Linked DNA regions of Homo sapiens: all the other regions are linked to region 1. The links are contacts of gene promoters, found by promoter capture Hi-C in blood cells and fetal thymus (Javierre and others, 2016). All regions are on one chromosome and are shown on one strand. The core of a region is centred on a gene start or on the middle of the fragment in contact, and the rest is flanking DNA. Distances in the headings are between cores, read along the strand shown. Region 1 holds the start of RNF217 (ring finger protein 217). Region 2 overlaps NCOA7 (nuclear receptor coactivator 7). Region 3 has its middle 15 kb from the start of TRE-CTC1-7.

Region 1 (3,230 bases), core at 240-2,739:
GCCAAGGGATACATTTTTTTAAACATTCACTCTTTCCTGGAATATACAAATGAAGCAAAATTACAAATTCATGTATTATGGGTCTGAAATATTTATTCCAATTCTTTTCTCCACCAGCTCCATAAATATTTATTCTATGCCCACTGCTTGTTAGTTTCTGGGATACCAGGCCGATGAGGCAGTCTCTTCCTCTCCTCCTTTGAGCAAGCTTGTGCTTGCAATCCTGTATAAGAAATAAGAGGAGGGCAACAACTTGTATCTTGTGCCTTCTACACATGCCAACCATAGCCTGAAGTTCACAGCAAAGTTAAATTCCAGTTAAGTAAACCAGTGAGGTCATAATACACTTAAATAACAACTGAGACGTGAGAAACTAACAGAGATCCTCAGTAAGTGTGTCGGTCACCTCTTCGCGCGAGCAGGGAGATCAGATCGAGAGCAGGACCTCCTCGCCAGTGATTTGGAATGATAAATGGGGAAGAGAAGGGGGTGAAGTTACCTGGGCGCTCAGGTAGACTTTGAGGCACTCCTCGCACACGGCCTTCTTGCAGCAAGGCAGGGGCTTGATGGGCTTGTCTTCCAGGCACACCCGGCACATCAGCACCATGAGGGGCACATAGGGATCCCCTACACCGCCCAGGCCAGAGTAGGGTGGAGCTCCCAACAGGCTGGGCATGGAGAACGGCTCGGGCGCCAGGTAGAACTCCAGCTCGATGCTGCCGCCGTCGGGGGAGAGGGAATCCGTTGGGAGGGACAGTCGGGGGCTGGGGAAGGAAGAGCGGGTGCTGGGAGGGTTCAACACTGGCGGAGCCCCAGGTGGCGACGCGGGCGGCGAGAGCTGCTCCGAGGCGGGGGCCTCGGGCAGGTCGCTCTCCACGCAGTACACGGAGCAGAAGACTTGTCTCTTGGCGAGGGACGGGCGCCGCTGACCCAGCACGTCCAGGACCAGTCCGTCGGCGGCCCCCACGCGGGTCCTGGGCTCCAGCTCTTCGCCGGGGGGCGCCTCCTGCTGTTCATCCCCTCCCTCTTTTCGATCCCCAGCTTCCTCCTCTTCCTCCTCCAGCTCCAACTGCAGTGGCAAGGTCTGGGGATTGAGAGGCCCGGTGAGTGCCAGTCCCGCAGGCTGCGCCGGTGCTCGGCTCTTACTCCAGCCCGGGGGCCCCAGGCTCCTCGCGGGCTCTGGGGCGCTGGTGTCCGCGCAGCCCCAGTCGCTTCCGCAGCCACCGCCGCTCGGCTCCGCGGAGGCGGCGCGCAGCGGGGGCGCCCGGGCGCTGTCCCCCTGAGGCCTCGGGGGCTCAGGGTGGCCCGCAGTGCCACTGGCCAGGGTCTGCGACTCCTGGGGCCCGCCGCCGCCGCTCACCGTGCTCTGCTCCTCGCCCATCGCCGCCCGCGGCCCGCGCCGCCGCTGCCCATCCAGCCGCCGGGACCCCCACCCGGCGCCCGCGGGCAGCGGGGGCAGTGGCTCGGCTCGACTCGCGGCTCCGCTTCTGCTTCCGGGTCCTTCCTCCTGGGCTGGGACGCCCCAAGTCCCCTCCGGGGAGCCCGTGCTCCGAGGCTGCGGCGCGTGGGGAGCCTGGCCCGGCCCGCCGCTCCTCCTCGTACTCTGGCGCGGCGGGGCACCGCCTCGGGGGCGCCGAGGGCCGCTCGCTCTGGGCTCGGGCGCGCCCGCCCCACATGCAGCTCGGGGCGGCGCCGCAGCCCCAGCGAGCCCCAGGCGGGACAGAGGGGTCTGGGAGGAGACGGCCGTCAGTCCCGCGCCATCACCGGTCCCGGCTGCCGGACGCGCGGCCCGAGGGCGGTGGTCAAAGGGTCGAGGGGCCTGTGGCGCCGCCGCGGCGCGCACCAGGAGGTGCAGCCGGAGCGCTGGCCAGCCGCAGGGCCCCTGGGGGAGAGGCCGGAGCGGGCGACCTCCCTCTCCCCGCGCTTCACCTACAGCCCTCCTCGCCGCCCCTCACCCCACCCCTTTGGCGCACACCTCCCCACACGTACACACGCGCGCAGGCACCCGCGCACACACACACGCACACCCTGAGTGGGTGTGATCTAAGAGCTGAGATGCGCTTTCTCGCCCGGAGTTCACACTCAGCCTCAACAAAACCCTCAGAGCAGGCAGGCTCCCCTTTGGTCTCCGCATTCAGTAGAACTTCCTACAAAACTACACTCAGCTCTGGAATTAGTAAACGCTGGCTATTTAGGATGTCGAGTTCAGAGAAATAATGCTAAGGATTATGAATTCTAAATGCTGTATATTACAACTCTGTTTTTCTGCCTAGTGGAGTAGGAAGAATCTTCGAAACCCATAAATAATCGAAAAAGCACTTTCGATCTACTCCTCCAACTGGAATCCTTAGAAGAGTTGATAACTAATTTAAAATTTCTCTCTTTTTCTTCGCCTACAGTGTTCTCTTAGAAGTTTTTTTTTTTAACCCTTTTCAGCATTCCAAAATGGATAGCACAAGGTGGAAAAATGTCCTGACCTAATTAATAAACTGGATCATTAGTGGAAATCATGGGCAGTTTCATTAGCATAACCATATTTATCCTCAAAACTGTTTCCAAAACAACAATTATATGTGAGCCAGGACTTAATTATGTGTTGATCTATCTTTATTTTACAGGAAGTATTACTCACCCAGACACTGGTGTTTTAGTTCCCTAAAGCCAGTGAAAACATTTTTGGGAAGCCAGCCCTTGTTTTGTTTTTTTTCTCCTGAGAGGGAATTCAATTTACACATTCATGTAATAGCAAGGAACTGTAAAGTGTGTAGAATTTTATTTTTTAATCTCGAAGTTGTTATTGGGTTGTTCTAAAATATTTTCCAAATCAGATGCAAATGATACAAAGGTGACTAGCGATGCAAACTAAGAAAGCAGTGTAATGCCAAAGAACATTTCCATCATATATGTGTGTCTGAGGCTCAGTTGCAAGCAAAGGTATGAATTGGATGTCTAAATGCCATGTCATCTATCGGTCTGACCCAAGAATGGAAAATTCTTATTTTGAAGATTAAATGCTATTCGAGGATTCTTTTCTTTTTTATCTCAGCTAAGTGATTTCCTGGTAACTGCTGTTTTCTCCAAATGATACTTTAAGTGCTTATTGTTTTAAAGACAGAGACAAGAAACCTACTTATGTGTGCCTTTTGAGTGTGCCATCTGATGACCAAGCCACTATTCTTTCCAGAGATATAAAAGTAATCTGCATTTTCCAGGTGACAACAGGCTAAGAC
Region 2 (3,230 bases), core at 372-2,871, 830 kb before region 1:
GAATTCAGATCATTTTTATGCCAAAGGCTACCAGACTGTACCAATGACTGACCCTTGAGAAAGGCCAATCTTTCTGCTTACTGTGGTGATAAATATATCAAGCCTAACTTATCATGTCGATGTAAATAATGAGTTACCTGGGTAAATTCAACCAACTTAACAATTAGGTGTCAAAACATCAGTATGAAGAATTAACTCCAGGAGCTCAATCTTTTAAATTTCATGGTAAATAAAAGAGGCTCAGAGAAGACTCTGATTTATTAAAACAAGGATAAATCACATGAATCACTGACGCGAAGGTCAGATTGTCGATTCACTCTGGTGAGTGTTATGCTAAGTTAGGCTAGCCCTTCAGCTAAAAATGACTTTATTCTATTGAAACTCCTGTTCAACCTATATAGCGTTTAAGGCAGGTACTCCAAATATAATTGACTTAAATTGAATGGCTTTATTAATTTCAAATTAGTAATGAGTGAATATAAATGTAAGAGTTTAAAAAAAAGTTTTGTAAAACTATGTAACATTGTTTTCCATTTGGCTAAGTTCAAATGTACTAAATTTGCAATTCTTGTTCAAAACATTTAATGTAACCCATTAAACTTGTTCATCAAAAACATACTGTGTCCAGAGATCAATTGTGCAATGGCTTCATTTATTTGGTTTTATGTTTTATAATCTGCCTTGTTCCACAAAGGATATGAGTCATCTTAAAAGAATATAATTCAATCAAATGGAAAAGTATAATTAGATAAACATCAGAATCAAGAAAAACAAGGTAGAACAGAAGCTCAAGACCATAGGAAAAGATAAAATATTGATATTAGGTTATGAATTTTTATATGATTATTAAAATTGAGTTGCAAATTTGTTCATTTCCTAGTTGCCAAGTTAGAAAGGGAAATATAATCAATGATTTGATTCTCATTTTGCATGATGAAAAGAACACACACAAACACACACACACAAGTTGTTCAGGGTAAGTAAAGCTTTTCTTTGGCATTTAAAGTTAAATGGAATTTCTTGCATGAGTCTTCAAACAGAAACTATAGAAAGTACCATGATCATAACCACATTTCGAAAGTAACATAATAGTAAGTTTCCTCTGACTGTATTAATAAAATCCCTCAGTGTGGGCATATGGGGGGGTGTTAAGGATGCAAAACAAGGTACCAAAGTACAGCTTCTGAAGATCTGGCTAGACTTCTGGTCTAACAGCTAGTATTGGAAGGGAATAGGTTGACGTCATGGCCTTTGTTCAGCCAACCCCCCGTAAACATCATTTCTCTCAATTAAGCTTCTGATCAAATTTAGCAACAGAAAATTCATATTCTCTGGCATGTACAGAAACAAATGCATTTTGTATCACTGTTGAGGGGAGACCAGTAGACAACAATCACTCTTTATGTATTCACTATATCTGAAATTCAAGGTCATACAAATTTACTTCTGTATATTTTTTTCTGCAATCAACAATTCTGATTTTAGCACAAGTGAATTGAGTGGATCCTGTTGAATTTAAACAAACAAAAAATTATGGGCTGGGATTTTAAAAACAATAGTAAATGGCATTTAGCAAGAAAGGAATAGAGGTTTCTAAAATACAGCCTTTAGGAAGATAAAGAGAGGAAATCCAGGTCTTGGATTGCATTCTGGTGGTGCTTGTGGGGGCGGAGTGCTGGGGGATCAGGAGGTAGGACCCAAAAGTGAGTCAACCAATCCCAGAGGCACTGCGCATTTGGTTGTAGGACACACAGAAGAGAAAAATACCTCTTCAAATCTGAGATTAGAGCTTTTATTTGACTGTGATTCCAAAGCCAAAGTAATAGCAGTTAAACTGAGCAGTTAAAGGCTCAACTCCTACTTGTAAAATGAACAAATAAGTGCTTATAAGTAACAAGGTAAAGAGAGCTTACTGTAACCAAAGGGGAGGGCTTTTTTGAAAAGCTTAAAGTGTGCAAGGAAGAGCCAGGTAAATTAATTGCTCAATACCCTGGGTTACAAATTTAAGAAGTGTAAAATGTAATTATCTTTATTACAGGAGGGAATTTTGGCTTTGTTTTAATAAATCATAACAAATTAATTTTTTTCATAAGTTCCCTCCCACTGTTGGTTCCTGCAGTCTTATTAACTTTTATAGGAAAGTTTTATTTCCTTATCCATCTAGGAAGAAAATAAGTAGGTTGGAGAAGCAATAGTAATAAAGTATGGCCTACCATATTGTGTAAAAATAAGTCATTTGAGTAATATGAAGTGAAGATGGTAAAGATGCATTAAAATGTCAGAAAGAAAACCTGGGAGCATGCCCAGATAATATTGTTAAGCAGAGACTGAAAGAAGTTCACACTGACTCATGAAATTCATGTGATGGAAAAAAGATGAAATCAAAACAGAAAATGTCATAGTGTAAAAATAAAGCAAATAAAGTTTGATGCAGTTAACCTTGTTTTTCTTTTTTTTTTTCAAAATGATATAACATTTTAAAGCAGGAAGACACTGTATCTTGCAAACCCTCATTTCACAATCCCCTGGCTGTCAAATTTGGAAACTGATGTGTTTCTATACCGAGGAGAAAACAGTTTAAATTGTGTATCTATATCACACATTTTGAATCATTTAAGAATCACAGACACTTCTACATGTTTTATTTCTACTTTTGCCTGTGATAAAAGACATGATAATTAGATCAAACCTGAAAAACTCAACTCTAAAATAAGTGAATACATCACTTATTAACCAAATCATTGTTTCCTCTGGCGTAACTTACAATTTTCTTTAAAACACGACTTTTACTTTTTAAATTGTGTTTGAGAGCACAGTTGAAGTTGGCATGATTACCAGTGAGACTGGAAATTTTGCAAGCTTAGACATGAAATGAACTTAAGAGTTGGGGAGAATTACCTCATAACCTTGATGACATATTACAGAAAGATAGCATATGGTCCTAAAGATGTCAGAATTGAAATATAAATGTTAAAATAACTGAGTTTGCCTATTTATACAAAGAGGCAATTTTTGAAATTCAATTAAATTTCACCGGCTACAGAACAATTCTGTGATTCTAAATTGTGGTTTTTAGATGAAAGCTTGAAACACAGTTCATTCATTCAACAAATAACTAATGGGTACTTATTCTGCATAAGATGCAGAAGATTACAGGATTTAAAAAAAAACAGATTCAAGATTCTGTCCTATTTGAGCTTATACTGAGTCACTTCTCCAAATCTCTATAC
Region 3 (3,230 bases), core at 209-2,708, 800 kb before region 1:
CGGAATTTTAACTCTTAAACTATACATTTAAGCATAACAAACAAATAACTTTCACCACTTCTCTCACTGTGTCATATCCTAAAGACAAACAATTTGTGAACTTTGTTTCTTCTTTTGTCCAAGCTCCTGATATCCAGAGCAAAGGGATTGTCTTGTCTGCTGCATCTTGGTGTTTGGAGAAGTGGCTAAATGCATTTATATCGAATTATTGTTCCTGTGTTGTTTTGTCTGTGGCTCCCACTCTTGGGAATCCTTGGGGTTTGAGGATCGCATCAAAAAAGTATCTCTGGTATGAGAAATGGTCAGTGTGGCCAGATAATTCATGGGTTGAGCACTGAGACTCGTTTCCCATGATCATCTTGGTCAGGAGGCACTTGGTGTTTTAAGCCTATTCTCTTGATGCAACACATATGCCTTAAATCTGTTTAATGATTTAGCAGTGATGGACTCATGAATATATTTCAGATGGGCCCAACAGCCTCTCAAGCTTCCTTCCAAGTATCAGTAAAAGACGTGTTACCACAGGCAAGGTTTTTCCCCTGAGCTTGGCCATACCCTCATCTCGCTTATCTGATGGTCACCAGCTTGCACAGGTCTTTTTGGTTTTTGTTTTTGAGATGGGACCTCCCTCTGTCACCCAGGCTGGAGCACAGTGGCATAATCATAGCTCATTGCAGCCTTGAACACCTGACTCAAATGATCCTCCTGCCTCAGCCTCCCATGTACTTGGAACTACAGGCACATGTGTGCTCGGCTTGCACGTGAGTTTTCATGAGTTACCACACCCAACCATTTGTACTATTTTATGCTTATGTTTTCATTGTCAGAAAGATGTCAAAACAATAAAATAAATCTAACAGTGGCTGCTTGTAAGATCAAAATGTGACTGGCTTAGTTCTCATTTAAGAGTGGCTTGTGCCTGGGACAGAAATGTGTTATCATGAGAGTCATGGTCTATGTGCCTCTGTGTTTTGCCCTCATGACTGCAAACACGTCTCCATCATCTTGCCAGATCCCAGACAAGCCAATTTGATGCAGCTGTGCTGGGACAGACTGGTTAGGACAGGGAAAGAAGCCAGTCATTGCTGGCATAAGGGAAAGTCTACCCAAACAGAGCTATGCAAAGCTCCAGGCACATTGTTTTGGTGGAAAAAGAAAAAAAAAAGTCTTTAGGTTCTCTGCAATTAAGGAAAAAGGTTAAAAAAGAAGTGCTGAAAGACCTAGGAAGGTAAATCCTGTTCATCTTGATAGCTTATAATCAGGAAAGGAGGGGTTAATGCAACTAAGATATTCATTTGTGTTCAGAGTCATAATTTATTACTACACTTATACAAGTAAAACATTACGAATAATAGCCATTCTTTGCAAAATACTTTTTCTTCTGCATGAGAAAATGTGACTTTGTTTTCATTGTAATGAAAACACAAGACTTACAATGCAAACTTGATACAAGAAACTTTAGAGTTAAGTGCCAAGGTTATTCAACCTCTTTCTACCCCTTAAAAAAACTTATAATACATTCTGTTACATCCATGTCACACTTCATATGCATGAATCTCTTCATTTCCACACACTAACAGAATGACAACAAAGGTCAAGAAAACCAGATATTTATAGAAGGCTAAGAACTTAGAGGCATCTAAAAACGTCTCTGGGCATAAGATTTTTGAAAAATTATACACGTATTAACTGTTAACTGCTATCAAAAACATTCTTTAACTCTAGGCTGAAGAGTTAGGTCAGTTAAAAGGCCCTTTCTGATAACAAGAATTATTAAAGTGAATGGGTTACTGGACAGGTCTTCATAGGTCAAATGAAGAATTTTGTTTTATGGCATATGGACCTATGGTGTATAAACATTCAGAATAATCCAGCATTCTCCCTAAACAACAACAACAACAATTTCTTATCTTTTAGATATGGAAGATTGGAAATGATTTTTTTTTTCAAACTCAATTTGCTTAGTACCTTAATACTTCACCATTTTGCCACACCTTTGTCAACCACTTTGAGTGAGATGATAGAATTTTCTTTGGTAGCCTTTAAAGATTAAGCTCATAGATGAAGAAAAGATACGTGTGACTTGATTGAAAGTTGAGTTAAAACTAGAGAACTGCCAAAAATAATTTCCCTTTTATGTTGCATTATAAAGTGGAGTTATTCCTTTTTTCATCCTTTCATATATTAAAAGAGTGAGATGGAAGTGGTTTTACGATAATACTGTAGCTGGATTTACTGTCATCTTTAGTCCAAACTGATCCTAGGCAGGCTGAAATCCTGGGGGAGTCTGGATAACTCTGAGACCAAAAAAGCAGTGTCAAAAGCCACAGCCTAGAGGTCAAAAGTATGAATTTAAGTATCAGATAGTTTTCAGATAGTTTAACTCAAAGCTCAACCTGCTAGGAATGGCCTTGGACAATTAAGCTTTATTCTCCAATTCCTAATATGTAAGTAAGTAAACTATTATCTACTCTACAGGACAGTTATGAGGCTTAAATGAAGAAACAGATTTCAAGCACTTAGCATGGGGCTTAGTATAGAGAACAACTGACCAGTATTAGCAGTTAGTATCATAATTGATTTTCTTTTTCAGACCTGCACCTTACAGTGGGTACTGGTTCCCACAGTCAGAGCAGATTCCCTGACCACTTCCTTTCCTTTCCTTTGAAGTTAGAAGTAAGGGAGCCATGGGAAAAAGCACCACCTCATGCCTAGAGAACCATTTCCCGTCTGCCTCTGGCCCCTCACGCAAGACTGTCTATGTAAGCTCAGGGGCTTTTCTTCTTCTTAAGATCTCCCAACCAAGTTCAAAGATTTAGCCTTCCAAATAATATGAGCTATAGTCACAGTTTATGATGTCATGTTTGCTGCAATGCTTTGTTGTAGTTGCTGAAATATTCACAGCCTCAGTCAGTGCTTAGATCTTAAAAGAATTATAAGGGGAAGTCAAACTCCATTCTTCAGTAAAATGCAGCAGAACAACTAGAAGCAGTCCCATTGGGCAATAAAAAGTTTAAAAAATGCATCTATCTTTAGACCATTAGGCTTACAAAGTCAATCTAGATTCTTTGATTTTACTAGGTAGGACTCTATCTTATTGAGACATTTTAAAAGTAAGCTAGAACAGCCACATTTTAATCTATGTACAACTCTAGCCATGAATTTCTAAAATTGCATTGGAGTACAATACTGTGTTATTGTATTGCCTAAAATCCGAGATGCCATTGAAA

The links. Contacts are between HindIII fragments. The CHiCAGO score rates a contact against its expected background, and 5 or more counts as called.
Region 2: a contact is called between a fragment that was not itself captured here and the fragment with the promoter of RNF217 in region 1, in 1 of 17 cell types (M0 macrophages). The highest score is 5.2, in M0 macrophages.
Region 3: a contact is called between a fragment that was not itself captured here and the fragment with the promoter of RNF217 in region 1, in 3 of 17 cell types (M1 macrophages, M0 macrophages and M2 macrophages). The highest score is 9.4, in M1 macrophages.

Annotation. Positions count from the first base shown.
Region 1 is chr6:124,960,696-124,963,925 of GRCh38, reverse strand. It overlaps RNF217 (ring finger protein 217), which reads right to left and starts at 1,489. Exons shown (of 6, transcript NM_001286398.3): 1 at 500-1,489. The coding sequence starts at 1,381. RNF217-AS1 (RNF217 antisense RNA 1) reads left to right here and starts at 899. Exons shown (of 7, transcript NR_026876.1): 1 at 899-1,103. The HindIII fragment of the contact is 3,639 bases long and covers 211-3,230 here.
Region 2 is chr6:125,792,009-125,795,238 of GRCh38, reverse strand. The region is part of intron 1 of NCOA7 (nuclear receptor coactivator 7); the gene reads right to left. Among named protein-coding and RNA genes, the nearest start is that of NCOA7, 2.7 kb to the right of the region's middle. The HindIII fragment of the contact is 650 bases long and covers 1,297-1,946 here.
Region 3 is chr6:125,763,934-125,767,163 of GRCh38, reverse strand. No RefSeq gene overlaps it. Among named protein-coding and RNA genes, the nearest start is that of TRE-CTC1-7, 15 kb to the left of the region's middle. The HindIII fragment of the contact is 1,937 bases long and covers 490-2,426 here.